Regions from separate parts of the Homo sapiens genome. Here regions 1 and 3 are each linked to region 2. Evidence: promoter capture Hi-C in human tissues and cell types (Jung and others, 2019). All regions are on one chromosome and are shown on one strand. The core of a region is centred on a gene start or on the middle of the fragment in contact, and the rest is flanking DNA. Distances in the headings are between cores, read along the strand shown.

What was found. The method cuts DNA at HindIII sites, captures the fragments that hold promoters and counts their contacts. A contact is called where the count stands out against the background at its distance.
Region 1: a contact is called between a fragment that was not itself captured here and the fragment with the promoter of WFDC3 in region 2, in 2 of the 25 tissues and cell types used here (H1 embryonic stem cells and mesendoderm cells).
Region 3: a contact is called between a fragment that was not itself captured here and the fragment with the promoter of WFDC3 in region 2, in 2 of the 25 tissues and cell types used here (dorsolateral prefrontal cortex and mesendoderm cells).

What each region holds. Positions count from the first base shown.
Region 1 is chr20:45,485,162-45,488,830 of GRCh38, forward strand. It overlaps LOC107987282 (a long non-coding RNA gene), which reads left to right and starts at 2,451. Exons shown (of 4, transcript XR_001754641.3): 1 at 2,451-2,549. The HindIII fragment of the contact is 3,122 bases long and covers 1-3,066 here.
Region 2 is chr20:45,789,163-45,793,184 of GRCh38, forward strand. WFDC3 (WAP four-disulfide core domain 3) reads right to left here and starts at 2,721. Exons shown (of 7, transcript NM_080614.2): 1 at 2,670-2,721; 2 at 732-820. The coding sequence starts at 813. It overlaps DNTTIP1 (deoxynucleotidyltransferase terminal interacting protein 1), which reads left to right and starts at 2,792. Exons shown (of 13, transcript NM_052951.3): 1 at 2,792-2,947; 2 at 3,515-3,585. The coding sequence starts at 2,843. RefSeq lists silencers at 2,875-3,144, 3,355-3,494. The HindIII fragment of the contact is 18,270 bases long and covers 1-4,022 here.
Region 3 is chr20:45,388,962-45,392,630 of GRCh38, forward strand. The region is part of intron 3 of SYS1-DBNDD2 (SYS1-DBNDD2 readthrough (NMD candidate)); the gene reads left to right. Among named protein-coding and RNA genes, the nearest start is that of TP53TG5, 12 kb to the left of the region's middle. The HindIII fragment of the contact is 5,202 bases long and covers 1-3,669 here.

The sequences.
Region 1 (3,669 bases), core at 256-2,755, 310 kb before region 2:
CTAAAACGGGGTCTGTGGCACCTCCTCTGTTTTTCTCAAGGAGTCCAAGGCTATTAGAAATTATCTTAGGTCCTCTCACATGTGCATCAAGAGTGGCAAGAAGGCAAAACAGAGAAACAATTCAGTTGACTGTGAAAAAAAAAATACCTTTTTTTTCCCCTTGTCTTGTTTTCCCCTGGTAAAAAAAAATACTTTTTTCTTCATAAGATCCAAGAAGAGAAAAAAACATAAAGACCTTTTAAATATACGTATAGCTTGGATATCTGCTTTTAATTAAGCTAACTTTTAACAAAATCTCTTATTACCAGACTCTAGCCGGGACAAACAGCCAATATTTATGGCCTTTAAACTTTACCAAAGGTAATCTCCCAGGTGAAACCAATAAGCCTTAACTAAGGTTGTGACTTAACCACAGGTGTACGAAGTATTTTCAAACAGGTGGTAAGCAGTTTTTACAAGATTTAGAATCTACAAAGGCAGCTTAGAGAAGGGAAAATTCAAAAAGGAAAGCCAGATGTTGTTCAAGGAGGGGCAGAGAATCAACAAATGGCAAAGCTCACGTAGATATCAAACTAGAAAGGACTAATTCCCTGAGCTGGGAATTGAACCCTGAATGTGGGCTGCCATTGTGAAAAGACAAAACCTTAGCTACTAAGCTTCAGCATTGGGCAGTTTCCATTTCTTTTCTTAGAAGGACCCTAGAGGCAGCCAATTTTGAGCTTGCAAAGGCTTTTAACTGCTCAAGACAATTTTTAGGGCTATGACGTGAACCTCAAAATTCCTGTCCTCTGGATGCTGGAGACTAAGAAGGTATACCACCATATGGTTACAAGGTCAAGCTTCCAAGGGCATAAGACAAGGGGAAAACTTCAGTCAGTTTTTTGTTTGTTTCAGGGACCTGCCGCAAAGTTTGTAACTGACCAGTGTGCCGGACTGGCTTGAACAGCAAGCTTACCGGGTCCTAAGCCCATATTCTATCCTAAGGTACCTCTCTTTATGACAGAAAAATACAGAAAGACAAATTCATAGCACAAATTACACCAGATTTGCTACAGCTTAATACTAGCCACATGAAGGCTTTTGTTTCATTAATTGAAACTTTGCAGAGGAGGCAGTGATTTTTACCATTCCTACAGTCGGCGCGCACAGAGAGAGGCCAGAAGTCTGACTGGTAAGAAATTCTTACCCTTTTGCTGGCATGCCAGGTTTCTGGGTTCCCTTTCCCTGAGTGGCCCTAGCGAATCTACTTGCTGCATCATAGCCCTGGAGGCCAAGCTGCAACACAAAATTAAAAAAAAAAAAATCTCAATTTTGTAAGATGCTGCCCAGTGGGTTGCATGGGGTAACCAAATGAACATTTTCCATTCCAGCCAGAGCAAAATACGTGTGACAAAACATAGACATTAGCCGCTCTGCTTAGCACCCAATATCTAACTGGCAAGGCTCAAACTTGCCCCCGGTTGGGCCTTGTCATCTTTAATCCATTCAAAGTGGGGTGGAGTGACCTCCGACCCGGAATTTCAACATGTGGTCTCTGGGCAAGATGGAAGAGCAGGTAGTCTCAAGTAACAGAAACGATAGGAAAAGAAAAGGAGAGAAAGAGAGAGTAAGAGAGAGAAGCCTGGTCTGAGGCAGGGTGGGGAAGCGGGGAGCTCAGGGAGACCAGAGGAATACCCACCCATTGCAGCAACACTGAATCAAAAGTTCAGGCAGGTACTTGTCAGTCACAAAGGGATCTTTTCCAGCAGTCCCATCAGCTCTCAAGTTGCCCCCTCTGGGGAGAAAAAAGTTCCCCATGTTCCAAGATCCTGTACATGCCTAATCCAGTCACCTGTAGCCATCAGCAAACAGTGCAAGGCAGATTAATCCAGAGAATAGCAGTTAACATTTCATAGTGCCAAATCCATTTCTAACCAAGAGGGATGTTACTGAGGGGGACCTCTGACCCACTGTCTTTCTCTTTTCTTTCTAACCACTGTCTTTCTCTTTTCTTTCTTTTTTTCTCTTTCTCTCTTTCTTCTTTTTGAGATGGAGTTTTTTGCTGTGTTGCCCAGGCTGGAGTTGTGCTTCATCCTAAGGTACCCCTTTTTATGACAGAAAAATACAGAAAGAAAAATTTACAAAATACAGAAAGAGCCCCCTCTGCTGGAGAAGAAATCTCCACCCACTCCACCTCCAGCCCCGACTCCTCAGCCTCTCCCACCCGCTCCGCCGCCACAGCCAGCCCTGCCCTCACCACCCCCGCTGGTGGCCCCCACGTCCAGCTCACCACCGCCACCACCGCTGCCACCTCCACCAGCTATGCCTTCGCCTCCACTGCCACCCCCGCCAGCCGCTGCCCCACCGGCTGCCCCTCCAGGGGAGCCCGCCCCCCATCCCCCGAGGACGCTGAGCTGCCGGACACCTGGCCTCTGCACCTGGCCAAGAAGCAGGAGACGGCGGCCGTGTGTGGAGAGACGGACTAGAAGGCTGACGAGAGTGGCGGAGAGGGCATTTTCCGTGAGCAGGACGAGTTCGTCATCCGCGCAGAGGACATCCTTTCCCTCAAGGTGAGTCCCAGGCTTCTCCAAAAACTGGGCCTGATGGGTTACTTGAGTGTTTGTTGAGCGCCTGCTGGATGAGAGGCTTGTGTTGGGACCTGCGGATCCAGTCATGGCTGAGGGAGAATGGCTGGGCCCACTGGAATTCACAGTCCAATGGGGCCGTTAGAGGTGGCAGTGACCTGCGGGCCTCAGAGGTGTTATTTGCGTATGTGTTTATACACGCATTACCTGTATGTAAGGTAAATACTTTTTTTTTTTTTTGAGACAGAGTCTCGCTCTGTCGCCCAGGCTGGAGTGCAGTGGCGCAGTCTCGGCTCACTGCAACCTCCGCCTCCCGGGTTCACGTCATTCTCCTGCCTCAGCCTCCAGAGTAACTGGGACTACAGGTGCCCACCACCACGCCCGGCTAATTTTTTGTATTTTTAGTAGAGACGGGGTTTCACGGTGTTAGCCAGGATGGTCTTGATCTCCTGACGCACCGCCTTGGCCTCCCAATGTGCTGGGATTATAGGCGTGAGCCACCGCGCCGGCCAGGATTTTTGTTTGTTTGTTTGTTTGTTTGTTTGTGATGGAGTTTCACTCTGTCGCCCAGGCTGGAGTGCAGTGGTGCGATCTCGGCTCACTACAACCTCTGCCTCCCAGGTTCAAGCAATTCTCCTGCCTCAGCCTCCCGAGTAGCTGGGATTACAGGCACATACCACCACACCCGGCTAATTTTGTATTTTTAGTAGAGGTGGGGTTACCATGTTGGCCAGGCTGGTCTCGAACTCCTGACCTCAGGTGATCCACCCGCCTCGGCCTCCCAAAGTGCTGGGATTACAGGCATGAGCCACCGCGCCCAGCCACCCCCTATGGCTTAGAAGGGACTCTAATTTTTCTAAGTTAAGCCTTTAACCCAGGTTTGGTCAAGCGTCGTTGCTTTTTATTAACAGGGGCCTTTAAGCCTCTTTGTCTTAGGAGGGACTCTAACTCTCCTAAGTTGGGCTTCTAACCCAATCCCATCCTTTACCCAGGTAAAACGTACCCCACCACATATCCAGAGTTGGCCAATTGGTGCTGCAGTCTTTTTCTTTGGGTCAGAAGTCTCTTCAGTATAGTCGCTTCATGGTGGCCAGGAAGATGTTAC
Region 2 (4,022 bases), core at 1,471-3,970:
CACTGCACTCTAGCCTGGGTGACAGAATGAGACCCTGTCTCTTAAAAAAAAAAAAAAATTCTGGCTGGGCACGATAGCTCATGCCTGTAATCCCAGCACTTTGGGAGGCCGAGGCGGGCGGATCATGAGGTCAGGAGATCGAGATCATCCTGGCTAACACAGTGAAACCCCATCTCTACTAAAAATACAAAAAATTAGCTGGGCGTGGCGGCGGGCACCTGTAGTCCCAGCTACTCGGGAGGCTGAGGCAGGAGAATGGCGTGAACCTGGGAGGTGGAGTTTGCAGTGAGCTGAGATCACGCCACTGCACTCCAGCCTGGGTGACAGAGTGAGACTCCATCTCAAAAAAAAAAAAAAAATTCTGCAACCACCTTCCCCTCCTCATACACAAATACTAACATATATCCACCACTGCTAAAGGAGCAGCCATCCTGCAGATAACGAGAGAGAAAGGGTGGGATGATCCTGTTCTCATTTAATGAGTTCTAGGGAAAAGCTAGAACCTCTAGTAAGCCCAACTGGAAGTCCTATCTCCTTGTCCAGAGAGGGTAAAGAAAGCCAGGAAGAATGACCCAGGCCATCCTGAGAATCTATTCATCCAGTCCTGTCCTATAGAGATGATCATCTCCACTTACAAGCAACCTTGCTCTGGGAGAAGGCAGGGGATGAGTTCTCCTCTCCTCTAGTCACTTTCTGTTACTGTTGGCCAGGGATCCCAAATGATAGCTCACCATGTTCTCCTGCAGTTATCCAGGATTCCAGAGACCCAAGAGCAAGAAGTGCCTTCAGAAGAAAGAGGCAGCTTAACATCATGATGATGCTGAGAGTTGGGACAAGAGCTCAGTTCAGGCTAGAGGTGTACACCTTGCCCAGAGTATCAGCTGAGGTATGAGCAGGACTAGGGATGGCCCCAAACCCAGTCCCAAAACCTTCCCTTTCACAATACTCCCCAAGAATATCTTCTCCTGACAAGAAGAAGAGGGATTGGCTGCTGGAGTGTGGGAAAATTCCTGGCACTACCAAAGGGGACCTGTGATGGGAGGATCAAATTCTGTAAGCAATATACACAATATTCCTGGATGATGAGAAACCTAGTGGGTGGCTGGAAAAATGGAGGGGTGGCCATTGGAAAAAGAATCAAAGAGAGCCCTAAAGGGCATTGGAAGGACATGGCTTTAGCCCAAATAACAGAGGGAGGGATTCACGACACTACTTAATGGCCAAAGCTAATAACATAACCAAGCATAATAAAATTGTGGCTCCTGTTCATCCTAGCAACCAAGAAAATACAGAATGGAACAGACCACTCAGAAACTATCAAATAGGCCAAGGCGGGCAGATCACCTGAGGTCAGGAGTTTGAGACCAGCCTGGCCAACATGGCGAAACCCTGTCTCTACTAAAAATACAAAAATCAGCTGGGCATGCTGGTGCATGCCTGTAATCCCAGCTACGTGGGAGGCTGAGGCAGGAGAATAGCTTGAACCCAGGAGGCAGAGGTTGCAGTGAGTGGAGATCATGCCACTGCACTCCAGCTTGGGTAACAGAGTGAGACTCTGTCTCAAAAAAAAAAAAAAGAGAGAAAAGAAACTATCAAAAACCTACAGAAAAGCAGTAGTTGAGTTTGTTAAGAACTAATGAAAAGCACCAAACACCTACATCTTTGTCCCTCTAACCCACACAGGCCATTCTTGGACTGTATGAAGTCTAGCTGGCAGAACCCAAGAGAAGTTGCTATGTATGACTCAAATAGTCTGCCCACATATACCTCCTTTATTTCTTTTTTCTCCATTTCTTTTTTTCTTTATCTGTCCTGGTCATGCCTTTGGTTAGCTGTGATACCTAATGGTGTCCACTGGCACTGCTTAGTCCTATGGGCAGGTACAAGGTAAAACCTCCTTAATAGGATCAAAAAGTTTGGAGCCAGGAAGTCGCCCTTATGGTTAGAAGGCTGATGTTGGCTCATGGAGATAATTAACATTTGATGATGACCTCATATGTGCCTAATATGCTTTTTTTTTTTTTTTTTTTTTTTTTTTTGAGACAGAGTCTCCCTCTGTCCCCCAGGCTGGAATGCAGTGGCGCGATCTCGGCATAATTAACATTTGATGATGACCTAACATGTGCCTAATGTGCTTTTTTTTTTTTTTTTTTTGAGACAGTCTCCCTCTGTCGCCCAGGCTGGAGTGCAGTGGCGTGATCTCGGCTCACTGCAACCTCCGCCTCCTGGGTTCAAGAGACTCTCCTGCCTCAGCCTCCCGAGTAGCTGGGATTACAGGTGCCCACCACCACGCCCGGCTAATTTTTATATTTTTAGTAGAGACGGGGTTTCGCCATGTTGGCCAGGCTGGTCTCGAACTCCTGATGGCAAGTGATCCTCCCGCCTCGGCCTCCCAAAGTGCTGGGATTACAGGCGTGAGCCACCGCCCCTGGCCGAGCATATTAAAATCTAGTTTTCAAAAACTGAACTGCAGGCGCCGCTGTACCAAACGCTTCCCTCTGCTCCCCAACCCCAGCCTACAGAAAACTGGTCCCTTCCTCCTACCCCGCAGTCATCCCCAGGCCTTGGCCCAGCGGGAAACATCCCTTGACTGAACCGCCACTGAACACCCACACTGCACAATCGAGGCGCAGCCCTCCCGAGAGGAAGCCCCAACGACCTCCACCTACAAGGCCTCTAAGTGTAACTGTCCTGGGCGAGGCGCGGCGGTTCGGTTCCCATGGTAACCCCGCAGCTCCAGCGTCGCGCTTCCGGGCGGACGAGCAGCGCGCTCCAGTGACGTCACGGCGCCACTTTCCGGCCGGTGACAGAGTCCAGCGGAGTTGTGGGGGCCGGGGGCGCCATGGGAGCCACTGGCGACGCCGAGCAGCCGCGGGGACCTAGCGGGGCCGAGAGGGGCGGCTTGGAGCTGGGGGATGCGGGCGCAGCGGGGCAGCTGGTTCTTACGGTGAGGGCGCCCCCGGTGAGGTCTGGGCTCAGGCCGGGCACGGCCTCGGGGCTCCTGGGACCCTGGCCCGCGGGCGAGAGAACGCGGAGGCTGGAGCTGCAGAGGGGGTTGGCGTTTTCGCAGCCCGACGACCTGGATTTAAATTCTGGTGCCGCCCTCCTAGCTAGGTGACGTGGGCCATCTCTGTCAACCCCCTGAGTCCCAGGATCCTCTTCTATAAAATGGAAATGATTAGTACCTGTCTCATAAAACTTGTTGTGGGATGGGAAGATAAAGGCGGGTACAACGCCCCGGACATCACCTGACACAGAGTTGACCCTCGGTAAATACTGCTTCCCTTCCTCCTGCCGTGCCAGAAGGCAGGGTCGGGACTTTTAAGGCAGGAAACTTCCTCAGTTCCTCTTTTGTGGAGGAGGCCTTACAACTATCGTCCCACCCCAAGGCGGGAGAGATGGTGACGGATCTGAGAAGCAGGGATGTCCAGGTTTAACTTCATACCCACCCTCCACCTCCACCCCACCCCAGTGTCACAGGCCGCAGTGACATTTGTTCCGTTGGTCCCCACAGAACCCTTGGAACATAATGATAAAGCACCGGCAGGTGCAGCGGAGGGGCCGCCGCTCACAGATGACAACAAGGTAAGGCTGGCCCTGCATGGGGCTTATATCCCAGCCACTGGCTTGCATGGCAGATTTGGGATCCCCAGTGCACAAGGCTATGGAGATCTACAGCCGGTAGAAAGAGCACAGGACTGAGGAAGAGGAGACTCCGATTCTGTAACTCTGTGTGATCTTGAACTAGTCAAGTCACTTCCTTCTCTGAACTCACGTACAAAATGGGGAAGGGCACAGGAGATGGGTTGTGGAATAAACAATACCTAAGATCCCTCACATTCACTGGCTCTGTGGTTGAGGGCTCTAAAGAGGTCAGTTAGCATGGAGTTTAAGAGAACAGGCTCTGGAGTCAGACAACTGTGTTCTCATCAACAGACTCTGATGAGCCCGTTTTCTCAACTATAAAGAGGGATTAATAGTATGCATGTCAGGGAAGGGAGAGAGCACAAGGTGGGCCTTTG
Region 3 (3,669 bases), core at 134-2,633, 400 kb before region 2:
GAAGGCTGCAGTAAGCCATGATCGGCACCACTGCACTCCGGCCTGGGCAATAGAGCAAGATGCTGTCTCTTTAAAAAAATTTTTTTTAGTTGACTTTTATTCTGTGACTTAAGATATAGTCTTGGTGAGTGTTCCATAAGCATTTCAAAAGAATGTGAATCTTGTTATTGTTATGTGAAGTATTGTCTAAATATTAATTAGATTCTTTTGATTGATGGCTTTTTAAAGTTCTTATACATCCTTGCTGCTTTCCTGTCTAGTGTTTCTTTTTTTTTTTTTTTGAGACAGAGTCTTGCTCTGTCGTCCAGGGTGGAGTGCAGTGGCACAATCTCGGCTCACTGCAGCCTCCGCCTCCCGGGTTCAAGCAATTCTCCTGCCTTAGCCTCCCGAGTAGCTGGGATTACAGGCGCCCGCCACCACACCCGGCTAATTTTTATATTTAGTAGAGACAGGGTTTCACCATGTTGGCCAGGCTGGTCTTGAACTCCTGACCTTAGGTGATCCACCCGCCTTGGCCTCCCAAAATGTTGGGATTACAGGTGTGAGCCACCATGCCCACCCTTCTGTCTAGTATTTCTATCAAGTGTTGAGAGAGATGTGTTGAAGTCTCCAACTTTAATAGTAGATGTCTATTTTTTTTTTCAGTTCTACCAATTTTTGTTTCATAGATTTTTAAGATCTGTTGTTTGGTATGTACACATGTATGATTGCTATGTCTTCTTTGTGATTTGACCCATTTAATATCTTTTTTTGGCCCTGGTGATTTTCTTTGCTCAGCAGTCTATTTCATCTGATATTGAAATTGCTAACTCTGCTTTCTTTTAATTAATCTTTGTATGGTGTATCTTTTTTCATCCTTTTATGTTCAGTCTACCTATGTCATATTTGAAGTGAGTTTCTTGTAGAGAGCTTATTTTGGGTCATTTTTTTCACTCCGTTTTGCCAGTCTCAGAGTTATAAAGTATATTTATAGACTACCGGCAGTTAATGCAATTATTTGTTAGGGTTTAAGCCTGCCATTTGATTGTTTTCTTTTCATTCCCTCTGCTTTTCATTCTTCTCTTTTATTTCTCTACTCTTCCTATGGGTTAAACAGTTTTTAGAATTCCATTTTTTTTATCTATGGTGAAGTGTTTTTTTTAAGTGTATCTCTTTGTGTAGGTTTTTTAGTGGCTGCTTTCTATATTACATCATACATAACATAATCTATGACCATCTACTGGTATCGACACTTTTGCCACTTTGAGTGAGGGATAGAAGCCTGACCTCTATTTAGGTCCCTTTACCCTTCTCCTTTCATAATGTAATTGTCTTAAATATCTTCATTACATAAATTGAATCCACATCAGACCATGTTATATAATTTCTGTTTTAGCCATCAAACATAATTTAGAAAATGCAAGTGAAGAAGGATAGCCCATCATATTTACCCATATTTTTATTATTTCCATTGTTCTTTCTTCACTCCTGATGTTTCGGGTTTTCTTCTTTCATCATTTCCTTTATGTTTGGAGAACTTCCTTTAGCCATTCTTTCACGGTACAGCAGGTCCTCAAATAATGTTATTTTGTTTAACGTCATTTCTTTATAATGTTGATGAGAAAAAAAAACAACAACTGATTCCCAGCCATGGCCACTGTCTGTGTAGAGTTTGCACATTCTCGTCATGTCTGTGTGGGTTTTCTCTGGGCACTCCAATTTCCTCCCACATCCCAGAGATGTGCACATTAGGTTAATTGGTGTATCTAAATTATCTAAATTATCCAAGTATGAGTGAGGGGTGTGTGTGTGTGTGCGTGCACGCATTCTGTGATGGAATGGCATCCTTTCCAGGGTGCCTTGCACCCTGAGCTGCCAGAATAAGATTCAGCCACCCAGGACCCTGAAATGGAATAAGCAGGTTGGAAATGAAGAATAAGTGAATACAAATTATTGTAAAATAAAAATTTGTAAAGTATATAATAATCATACAAATGCATAACAGTAAATAATTTGGTATAAGAGCACTCAGCCAGCCTGCCATATTTATTATTGTTTTTGAACTGCATGGTGGTAGGAGATACTCCTTACAATTTTTGCTCTGCAAAGATTTATTCCTTGGTTTAACTCACCACCATGATGACTGCTGTCACTCACTGCTTATACTAATCCAGCATGACCTCACTTTAATTACATCACCAATAGGTGAGTAAATAATGAACTTCCCTGTTTTATTAATCTTTCTTAAATGTATGTATAGCTCACATTTATTTTAATGTTTAATACTAGATGTGTCTGGGCATTTATTTAGAAGCGTGGTATTGTTTTTGTGACCAGAAGTATGCTGTATGGACTTACCTTGTTAATATCAATTAGTCTACGATAAACTTGCTTTCATTATACATCATTTTGGTTAAAGTTGCAGTTTCCAAGAAACTATTGATGACATTAAGGACTTACTATAGTTCTTCAGTTAACAAATTATGTTAGTTTTTCCTTCATTTGAGAATGTCTTGACTTTCATACCTGAAGGATTTTTTCACTTTGCTTAGCATTCTGGGTTGACGGTTTTTTCTTTCAGTACTTAAACATATTGTGCCACTTCTTTCTGGCTTTCACAGTTTCTGATGAGAAATCTGCTGCAATTTAAATTGTTGCTGTATTATTGGTAAGGTTAATTTCTCTGCAACTGCTTTCAAGACTTTAGTTTTCAGAAATTTGTTTATGGTGTGTCTTGTATGGATTTCTTTGGTTTATCATGCTTGGGGTTTAGTCAGCTTCTTGAATCCGTGTGTGTATGTCTTTCATCAAATTTGGGACACTTTCAGCTTTATTTCTTTGAACACATTTTTAGCTCCACCTTTTTTTTTTCTCTTCACCTAGGACTCCCATGACACAAATGTTAAATCTTTTGTTATAATCTTCCATGTTCCTGAAGCTTTGTTCTCTCTCTCTCTCTCTCATCTCTAGATCACCTGATCCAGCAGGTGATCTGCCCACGTTGGCCTCCCAAAGTGCTGGGATTATAGGCATGAGCCATCCTGCCTGGCTGAAATCCTCTTTTTATTTGTACTCTTTTTATCCCTGCAAATCTAAGGTGATGTTTTTGGATATATAATCCTTTTTAAAACTTGTGGGTCACTTTGAATCTTATTCAATATTACTCTGTTAGACAAAAGACATGCCCACAGATTTCTTTGCAATAAGCCCTTCTCTACTCTAGGCTTCGGCTGAGATGGCTAAGAGACAACAATCAGCCGTAAGATTTCCAGAATCACTATTGTTTTGATTTGGAGGATCTGTGAGACATATCCATAATTTGTTTAGACTCTTTAAATATGACTGAATAGTATTCTGAGGCACTGCCTTAAGTCTTTCTGAGATGTTAACAAAATATTTTACATTAATATTCTTTTTTTTTTTTTTTTTTTTTTTTTTTTTTGAGACAGGGTCTTGCTCTGTCGCCCAGGCTGGAGTGCAGTGGTGCGATCTCGGCTCACTGCAACCTCCGCCTCCCAGTTTCAAGTGATTATCCTGCCTCCGCAGTAGCTGGAATTATAGGCATGTGCCACCACGCCCAGCTAATTTTTTGTATTTTTAGTAGAGATGGGCTTTTACCATGTTGGCCAGGCTGTACATTAATATTCTCAGTTTCATATTTGGACCAGGCTTTCCTGGCAGTGCCCTGTA